2 separate regions of the Homo sapiens genome follow, and region 1 is linked to region 2. The links are contacts of gene promoters, found by promoter capture Hi-C in human tissues and cell types (Jung and others, 2019). All regions are on one chromosome and are shown on one strand. Each heading gives the region's core, a stretch centred on a gene start or on the middle of the fragment in contact. The rest is flanking DNA. Distances are from core to core; before and after follow the strand shown. Region 1 overlaps SCARB2 (scavenger receptor class B member 2). Region 2 holds the start of SDAD1 (SDA1 domain containing 1).

Region 1 (3,994 bases), core at 464-2,963, 200 kb before region 2:
ATTATTAATTAATTAACTAGTTAATTTATTTTGAGACAGAGTCTTGCTCTGTAACCCAGGCTGGAGTGCAGTGGCACGATCTTGGCTCACTGCAACCTCCACCTCCCAGGTTCAAGCAAGTCTACTGCCTCAGCCTCCCGACTAGCCAGGATTACAGGCACGCACCACCACACCTGGCTGATTTTTGTATTTTTAGTAGAGACGGGGTTTCACCATGTTGACCAAGCACGAACTCTTGACCTCAAGTGATCTGCCCGCCTTGGCCTCCCAGAGTGTTGGGCCACTGGGCCCGGCCCCTTTACAAATATTTATCGAAGGCCTTCTCTGACTTATTAGAACTGTGGGCTCTATTGGTGTAAGATATGGCCCTGTTCTCAGGAGACTGCAGTTGAATGCCTGTGAAATGATTAAAATAGTGATCTAGGAGGTCAGAATAGGGGGCGTCCCTTCCTCTGCTTCTTGGGTTTAAAGCCAACTATTGCCTTACATTTTTGTAAATCTCCTTTTGGTTTTTTCCTAGAAAATTGTGTTAAGGAATGGTACTGAGGCATTTGACTCCTGGGAGAAGCCCCCTCTGCCTGTGTATACTCAGTTCTATTTCTTCAATGTCACCAATCCAGAGGAGATCCTCAGAGGGGAGACCCCTCGGGTGGAAGAAGTGGGGCCATACACCTACAGGTAAGTCTTGACCACCTCCTGTCTTGAAAGAAATACAGAGTGACCCCAATATGGCCTGAGTCCTTGCCTCTTCCCAGGAGCAAGGCTCCAGGGCTGTGTGGGAGCACACTTTCTGATTTCATTGTCTGAAACGCTGCTGATGTTTTGTATGTGTGTGTGAAACCTCAGCAGAGAATGGCTTTGTAGACTGGGCCAAGTCTCAGCGTGTTGTGTTTTGAAGTGCAGCGGTTTCCTCCTGAGTTGGCAGACTGTGATTATTAAACCATGAAGGGTTACTCCTTACCCTGACCCTTTTAAGGTTGCCCCTTGATATTCTTATTTTATTTTATTTTATTTTTTTAAGAGACAAGGTCTGGCTTTGTTGCCCAGGCTGGAGTGCAGTAGAGCAGTCATAGCTCACTGCCACCTCCAACTCCTGGGCTCAAGTGATCCTCCTGCCTCAACCTCCCTAGTAGCTGGGATTGCAAGTGTTCACCACCACACCCAGATAATTTTTTTTGTAGAGATGAGGTCTTGCTATATTGCCCAGGCTGGTCTTGAACTCCTGGGCTCAGGTGATTCTCCCGCCTCAGCCTCCCACAGTGTTGGGATTACAGGCGTGAGCACCACCATGCCTGGCTACTGCTTGATATTCTTAAGTGACTTTTAGGGCCTCCCTCCATTTCCATTCCCCACATAACTAGTTTTAAAGCAGTTCCAGAATTTACTTTTGTCTGAGACAGATCTTTCTGTTTCTTACCCGCTCCTTTTCTCCACCTATCCTGCGTATAAGCAATAAGCAAGTAGCAGAGGCTGTTAGAGTCTTTGCTGGTGACCACCAATTCCAAACACTGGGGAATCAGGATCCCTTTAATCATTTTTAAACGATTAGTAGAGGGAGACGCTTGAATCAGAGCATTTTCTCTGTTGCAATGTTCCCCTTTTCCCTATTACAATACCTCCTCCCTCTCCCATACAATAATCTTTCCAATAAAGTCTCTCCTTACCAGGTTAGAAAACAAATTAATAGAGGAAGCAGACAACAAGATCTTTCTTTTTCAAAACTGCTGAATGATAAAAATGCCTGACAATTCTGTTGTAATCGATTGCTCAATAAATTATTGCTGACTGATTCATGTGCTATGAATCAGTACTATTCTCAGTGGTGGGAATTCAGAGATAAAAATCCTAGTTCCTGCCTTGGGTGCTCATGCTCTGACTCTGGAGTCAGATGACCCATTTTGATTCCCGCCTCTGCAACTTACTAGTTCTCTGTGCTTCCATTTCCTTATCTATAAAATGGGGATAAAAATAGGACCTCCTCCACATGGTTTTTACAAAGATTGAGTCAATGAGTCATGTATAAAGTGCTTAGACTAGTGCCTAGCACATAATTAGTGATACTTAAGTGTTTGCTCTTACTATTAGTTGGATTAGGCTATTTTTGCATTGCTATGAAGAAATACCTGAGACTGGGTAATTTATAAAGAAAAGAGGTTTAATTGGCTCATGGTTCTGCAGGCTGTACACACATGGCACACTGGCTCTGCTCGGCTTCTGGGGAAGCCTCAAGGAGCTTTTACTCATGGCAGAAGGCAAAGCAGGAGCAGGCACGTTACATGGTGAAAGCAGGAGCAAGGGGTGAGGAGGTGCCACACTTTTACAACAACAAGATCTCGTGAGAAGTCACCCACTGTTGTGAGGACAGCACCAAACCTTGAGGGATCCTCCCCTATGACCCAAACAGCTCCCACCTGGCCCTACCTCCAACACTGAAGATTACAGTTCAACATGAGATTTGGAGGGGACATCCAAACTATATCATTCCACCCCTGGCCTCCAAATTTCATGTCCTTCTCACATGTTAAAATATAATCATCCCTTCTCAATAGTCCCCCAAAGTCTTAACTCATTCCAGCATTAACTCAAAAGTCCTAAGTCCCAGGTCTCATCTAGAAATGAATTCCTTCTACCTATAAGCCTGTAAAATCAAACAAGTTATTTCCTTTCAAGATACAATGGGTGTATCAGCATTGGGCAAACATTCCCATTTGAGAAGGGAGAAATTGGCCATAAGAAAGGGGCTACAGGCCCCAAGCAAGTCTGAAACCCAACAGGGCAGTTATTAAATCATAAAGCTCCAAAATCATCTTCTTTGACTCCGTGTCTCACATCCAGAGCACACTGGTGCAAGGGGTGGGCTCCCAAGGCCTTAGGCAGCTCCGCCTCAGTAGCTTTTTTATGCTGAGATTGCAAGCTGATGGTGGCTCTACCATTCTGGTGTCTCAAGGACGGTGGCCTTCTTCCCACAGCTCCACTAGGCAGTGCCTCAGTGGGGACTCTTTGTGGAGCCTTCAGCTCCGCATTTCCCCTCCTCACTGCCCTAGTAGAGTTTCTCTTGAGGGCTCTGCCCTTGGAGCAGGCTTCTGCTGGGGCACTTAGGCTTTCTCATACATCATCTGAAATCTAGGTGGAGGATGCCAAGCTTCCTTCACTCTTGCACTCTGTGTTCCTGCAGGCTTAACATCACATGGAAGCTGCCAAAGCTTATGGCTTGCACCCTCCAGAGGAGTGGCCTGAACTGTACCTGAGCCCCTTTGAGCCATGTCTGGAGCTGGAGTGGCTGGGATGTGGGAAACAGCACAGGGAAGTAGTGCCCCTGGCCTGGTCCCTGAAACCACTCAGTCCTCTTAGGTCTCAGGGCCTGTGATGGAAGGGGCTGTCTCAGAGATCTCTGAAATGTTTTCAAGGCCTTTTACCCATTGTCTTGACTCTCAGCACTTGGCTTCTTTTTAGTTATGCAAATCGTTTTAGCAATGGTTGCTCTACAGCCTGCTTGAATTTATCTCCCCACAAAAATATTTTGTTTTGTTTTGTTTTTGAGACAGGGTCTCTGTTGCCAGGCTAGAGTGCGGTGGCATGATCATGGCTCACTGCAGCCTTGACCTCCTGGGCTCAAGGGTTCCCCCTGCCTCAGCCTCCCAAGTATCTAGGACTACAGGCAAGTGCCACCATGCCTGGCTAATTTTTAACTTTTTTTTTTTTTGAGACAGAGTCTCCCTATGTTGCCCAGACTGCGGAAATGCTTTTCTTTCTCTGCCACATGGCCAGGTTGCAAATTTTCCAAACCTCTATGTTCTGCTTCCCTTTTAAAAATAAGGTCCAACTTTAAGTCATTTTTTTACTCCCACATCTGAGTGTAGGCTGTTAGAAGCAGCCAGGCGACATCTTGAATGCTTTGCTGCCTAGAAATCTCTGCCAGATATCCTAAATCATCACTCTCAAGTTCAAACTTCCACAGATCCCTGGGGTGTGAACACAATGCAGCCAAGATCTT
Region 2 (3,989 bases), core at 1,309-3,808:
TGCAATATGTCTATATGATGGAATACTACTCAGGAATAAAAGGAGTGAACTATTGATACATACAACACCATGGATACATTTCAAAATAATTATGCTAAGTGAAAGAACCTTGACCTCAAATAATAGGTACTGTATGATTCCATTTGTATACAATTCCAGCAAACACAGACATATCTTTGGTGACAGAAAGCAGATGTGTGTTTGTCTGGGGATGATGAGGCACAAGGAACGTTTGGGGATGATGGATATAGTCATTATTTTGATTGTGATGATGGTTTTATGGGTACATACATATGTCAAAACTTATCAAATTGTTCACTGGGTAGTTTGTTGTACATCAATTATATCTTAATAAAGCTATAAAATAAATACATTATAATTTTAAAAATAAAGGATGGAATTTCACATGAAAGCAGAGATGTTGGCCTTAGATACCCAAATTATTTAACATCTGAAAAATATATATTCAGTTAGCCACTCTTAGTCTTAGAGTTCTCATTTATCAAAAACAAATCCTGCCTTCCATGCTGCTGGAGGTAAAATGAACTGACCTATATGCCCTCCTTAGAATAGCAATTAAAGCCTTTCATATCAGGACAATATAACCTTCTCAGCTCTTTCCCTGCTGCACCCTGCCCTCCCAGCCTTTAGTCACACCAAACTTATGGCTATTGTTTCAATACACCAGACATTTTCAAGTACCTGTACGCAGTCTTTTTTCTTTTTTTTTTTTTTTTGAGACAGGGTCTCACTGTATTGCCCAGGCTGGTGTGCAGTGCTTCACTGCAACCTTAACCTCCTGGGCTCAAGCAACCCTTTTGCTTCAGCCTCCTCAGTAGCTTGGACCACAAGCCTGTGCCACCATGCCTGGCTGATTTTTCAACTTTTTGGTAGAGATGGGGTCTCACTATATTGCCCAGGCTAGTCTTGAACTACCCAGCTCAAGTGGTTCTCCCACCTTGGCTTCCCAAAGTTCTGGGATTACAGGCTTGAGCTACCACACTTAGCCAGATTTTGTTTTGAGAATACTTTTTTTGCCCTCACTAAAACAACCTAGCCAAAAAATTTTAATTTAAATCTATGCTTTTTAAAAAAGATTTATTGCTGACATTTATTTCTTAACTTCACAGGTAACTGATTTGATAATTAATAAATAAGTCATTCTCCAAAAGCAGCTGAATAACATGGTTTGTGAAGCATTCTTTATTTTGTGTGCAGGTGTGATTACAGAGTTGTTTTGTTTGGGGCTCATTTTATCATCGTCACAGATGAGGTTGGCGTTCTATAAAATTGCTTTGGTTAAGCAGAACCCTATTGTCTGGCTATTTTGCCAGACCAGCAACCAGCTACCAGCTGTTAGGCTATGTTTTTTCTCATGTAGTTACAATCAAGACTGTCTAGATTGAAATCTCATCTTCCTCACAGGCTATGAATTGAGGCAGTCAACTTCCCTGAGCTTGTTTCCTCTTCTGTAAAATGTAGATAACAATAGCACCTATTTTAGAGGGTTGTTCTGAGGATTAAATAAGTTAATACAAGTGCTTGGAATAGTGCCTGGCACAGGGTGGGTAATTAGGTTTTTTTTTCTCTCTCTCTAATTCACAACACCCTACCTCATTCATTCAACCCTTATTGATTTTTTACACCTTGAGATTGTAGAAATGTATTCTCCTCTTCGAATTACCAGGATCTGAATTAAAAACTCTGACTGAGGAGTGCTTACAAAGCTTATAACGATGGTTGAATTTTAACGATTAATTGCATTTATTAATGGTCAACATGATCACATTTTATCCAGCCCTCTTTTCCCTTGTATGGGTCACGCTAAGTTGAAACAACCAAAACCAAAATAAAAACATATCTAAAATCATACACATTAACTTATATGACCCTCGTTGCTCTTTTTTCCTCCTAAGAGGGAATAGTGTTATCTAGCGCCACGGTTCTTTTCAGTTTTGTTTTGTTTTGTTTTGTTTTTTATACGGAGTTTCGCTCTTGTTGCCCAGGCTGGAGTGAAATGGTGCAATCTCGGCTTACCGCAATCTCCGCCTCCTGTGTTCAAGCGATTCTCCTGCCTCAGCCTCCCTAGTAGCTGGGATTACAGGCATGCGCCACCACGCTCGACTAATTTTGTAATTTTAGTAGAGACGGGGTTTCTCCATGTGGATCAGGCCGGTCTCGAACTCCCGACCTCAGGCCCGCCTTGGCCTCCCAAAGTGCTGGGATTACAGGCGTCAGTTTCTAATTTTAGACTGCGGGATTAAAAATAAACGATTAATCCTCATTTATGTGCTTCATATGGGTGTCGGAATGACGATACATGCTAACACACGTGAAAAAATTTACATTTCAGATCCTTTCAGAAACGCAAGGCAATATTAAGTAGTAGCATATGCCCAAGGGCGAGGGGCGGGTCGGCGGTGGCTGGCTCTCCAATACACCACAGAGTATTTTGGCAACGAGAGTAATTTTGACACTCTGAGGCTTCCGTAGCATAGCTCGCTTTAGGAACCGCTAAGGTGTCGCCTGCCTAGAGTCCCATGCGCTATTTCCGGTCATACCCGGAAACACGAGTCCAAGCTGCAGCTGGCAGGGATTGCGGGGTGCCGGCCGTCTGAGTTTTTTTAAAACTGCTCGCCGCGAAGTCTGTCTGCAGCCAAAATGTCCAACAGAAACAACAACAAGCTTCCCAGCAACCTGCCGCAGTTACAGAATCTAATCAAGCGAGACCCGCCGGCCTACATCGAGGAGGTGGGAGTGCGGCGCGGCAGACGCTAGAGGCCGGATAGTGGATGGTTGAGACGCCGGTGCGGGAAAGCATGGAGTGGGGCTGGGATCCAGGCTCGCCGCCTATTCTTCTGTTAGGTTCAGGGGTCCCTCCAGAGGAGAGAAGGGGTTGGGGACGGGACATGCCTTAGGGTTCGTTCCCCACCTCTTGAAAATCTGTTGCCCCTTTGGATTTTCTACCTGCCCTGCTGCCGCTGAAACACCTTTAAAACCTCATTTTGTTTTAAGATATTTTTCTTCGTCCGCACGGAAGTGGAGAGAGAAATGGGCCGCACCCAACCACCAACTTCCACGCGGATTTCTCAGCCTCTTTTCAGAAATCCCAAACTTGAATTAGTCGGTAACCTTTGATGAATCGTATGTTAGAATGCTTTCGATTGACGTCCGTTTCTGAGAGCAGGCTGTGTACCCTGGACTGTGCCAGGAAAGGGGGGGGGGGGGTTTCTCAAGCACAACGGACAGACTCGGGAGCTTAGTATATTTAGTTAAGCCAGGATTCAAACTTACCGGAGACTGGCATGACTCGGATGTCAGAATTTGCTTCGGGAAAAGATTAGGTTGAAAAATTAGGCCCTCATTGTGATGGGCTTTGTGTACTGACCTCATGTAAGTTGTGAACATTAGGGGTGTTTGAACCAAGTACCGACAAAACGAAAGTGGTTTTTGATATATTAATCTGACAGGTGCTTCCTTCAGACACTCATTTATCAGACGGGCATTAAACAGGTATCTCTGCTAGGCATTTGCTGCAATTACATGTTTGTGCTTCTACCAGATTGTGATTTGTTCAGTGGCTAACACAATTACTTATTTTTTCATTGCCCTTCTCACTTCCCTCCTCCCCTAAATTTTCACATATATGTATTTTATGAGTGCTTTTTAACACATGGCAATCTCAGTGGCTTAGGTCACCAGTAGAGAAAGCCTCTCCAAGGATCAAGGTAGTGGAAATAAAGAGTAGGAAACAAGTACAAGAAGTTAAGTAACATAGGCAAGGCTTTGAGATGCTTAAAGCATTGTATAGCCATTCGCAAAGAAAGTGGTAAGTTGAGAGTCTATATAATTCCGTTAGATAACTCCTGCTGCTGACTGTTGTTAACCAGTTGTGTAACCGAAGCAGGTTAATCGCTGAGCCTATGTGGGTATTTTAATATGTAAGAAGGGGGTAATAACTACTTCTTTAATTCACTTAAGTATATATG

What was found. The method cuts DNA at HindIII sites, captures the fragments that hold promoters and counts their contacts. A contact is called where the count stands out against the background at its distance.
Region 1: a fragment that was not itself captured here is called in contact with the fragment with the promoter of SDAD1 in region 2 in 1 of the 25 tissues and cell types used here (hippocampus).

The regions. Positions count from the first base shown.
Region 1 is chr4:76,192,391-76,196,384 of GRCh38, reverse strand. SCARB2 (scavenger receptor class B member 2) reads left to right here. Exons shown (of 12, transcript NM_005506.4): 2 at 521-678. Among named protein-coding and RNA genes, the nearest start is that of SCARB2, 19 kb to the left of the region's middle. RefSeq lists a silencer at 808-867. The HindIII fragment of the contact is 7,495 bases long and covers 1-3,994 here.
Region 2 is chr4:75,989,514-75,993,502 of GRCh38, reverse strand. SDAD1 (SDA1 domain containing 1) reads left to right here and starts at 2,558. Exons shown (of 22, transcript NM_018115.4): 1 at 2,558-2,751. The coding sequence starts at 2,662. All of the region lies in intron 1 of SDAD1-AS1 (SDAD1 antisense RNA 1), which reads right to left. The HindIII fragment of the contact is 8,316 bases long and covers 258-3,989 here.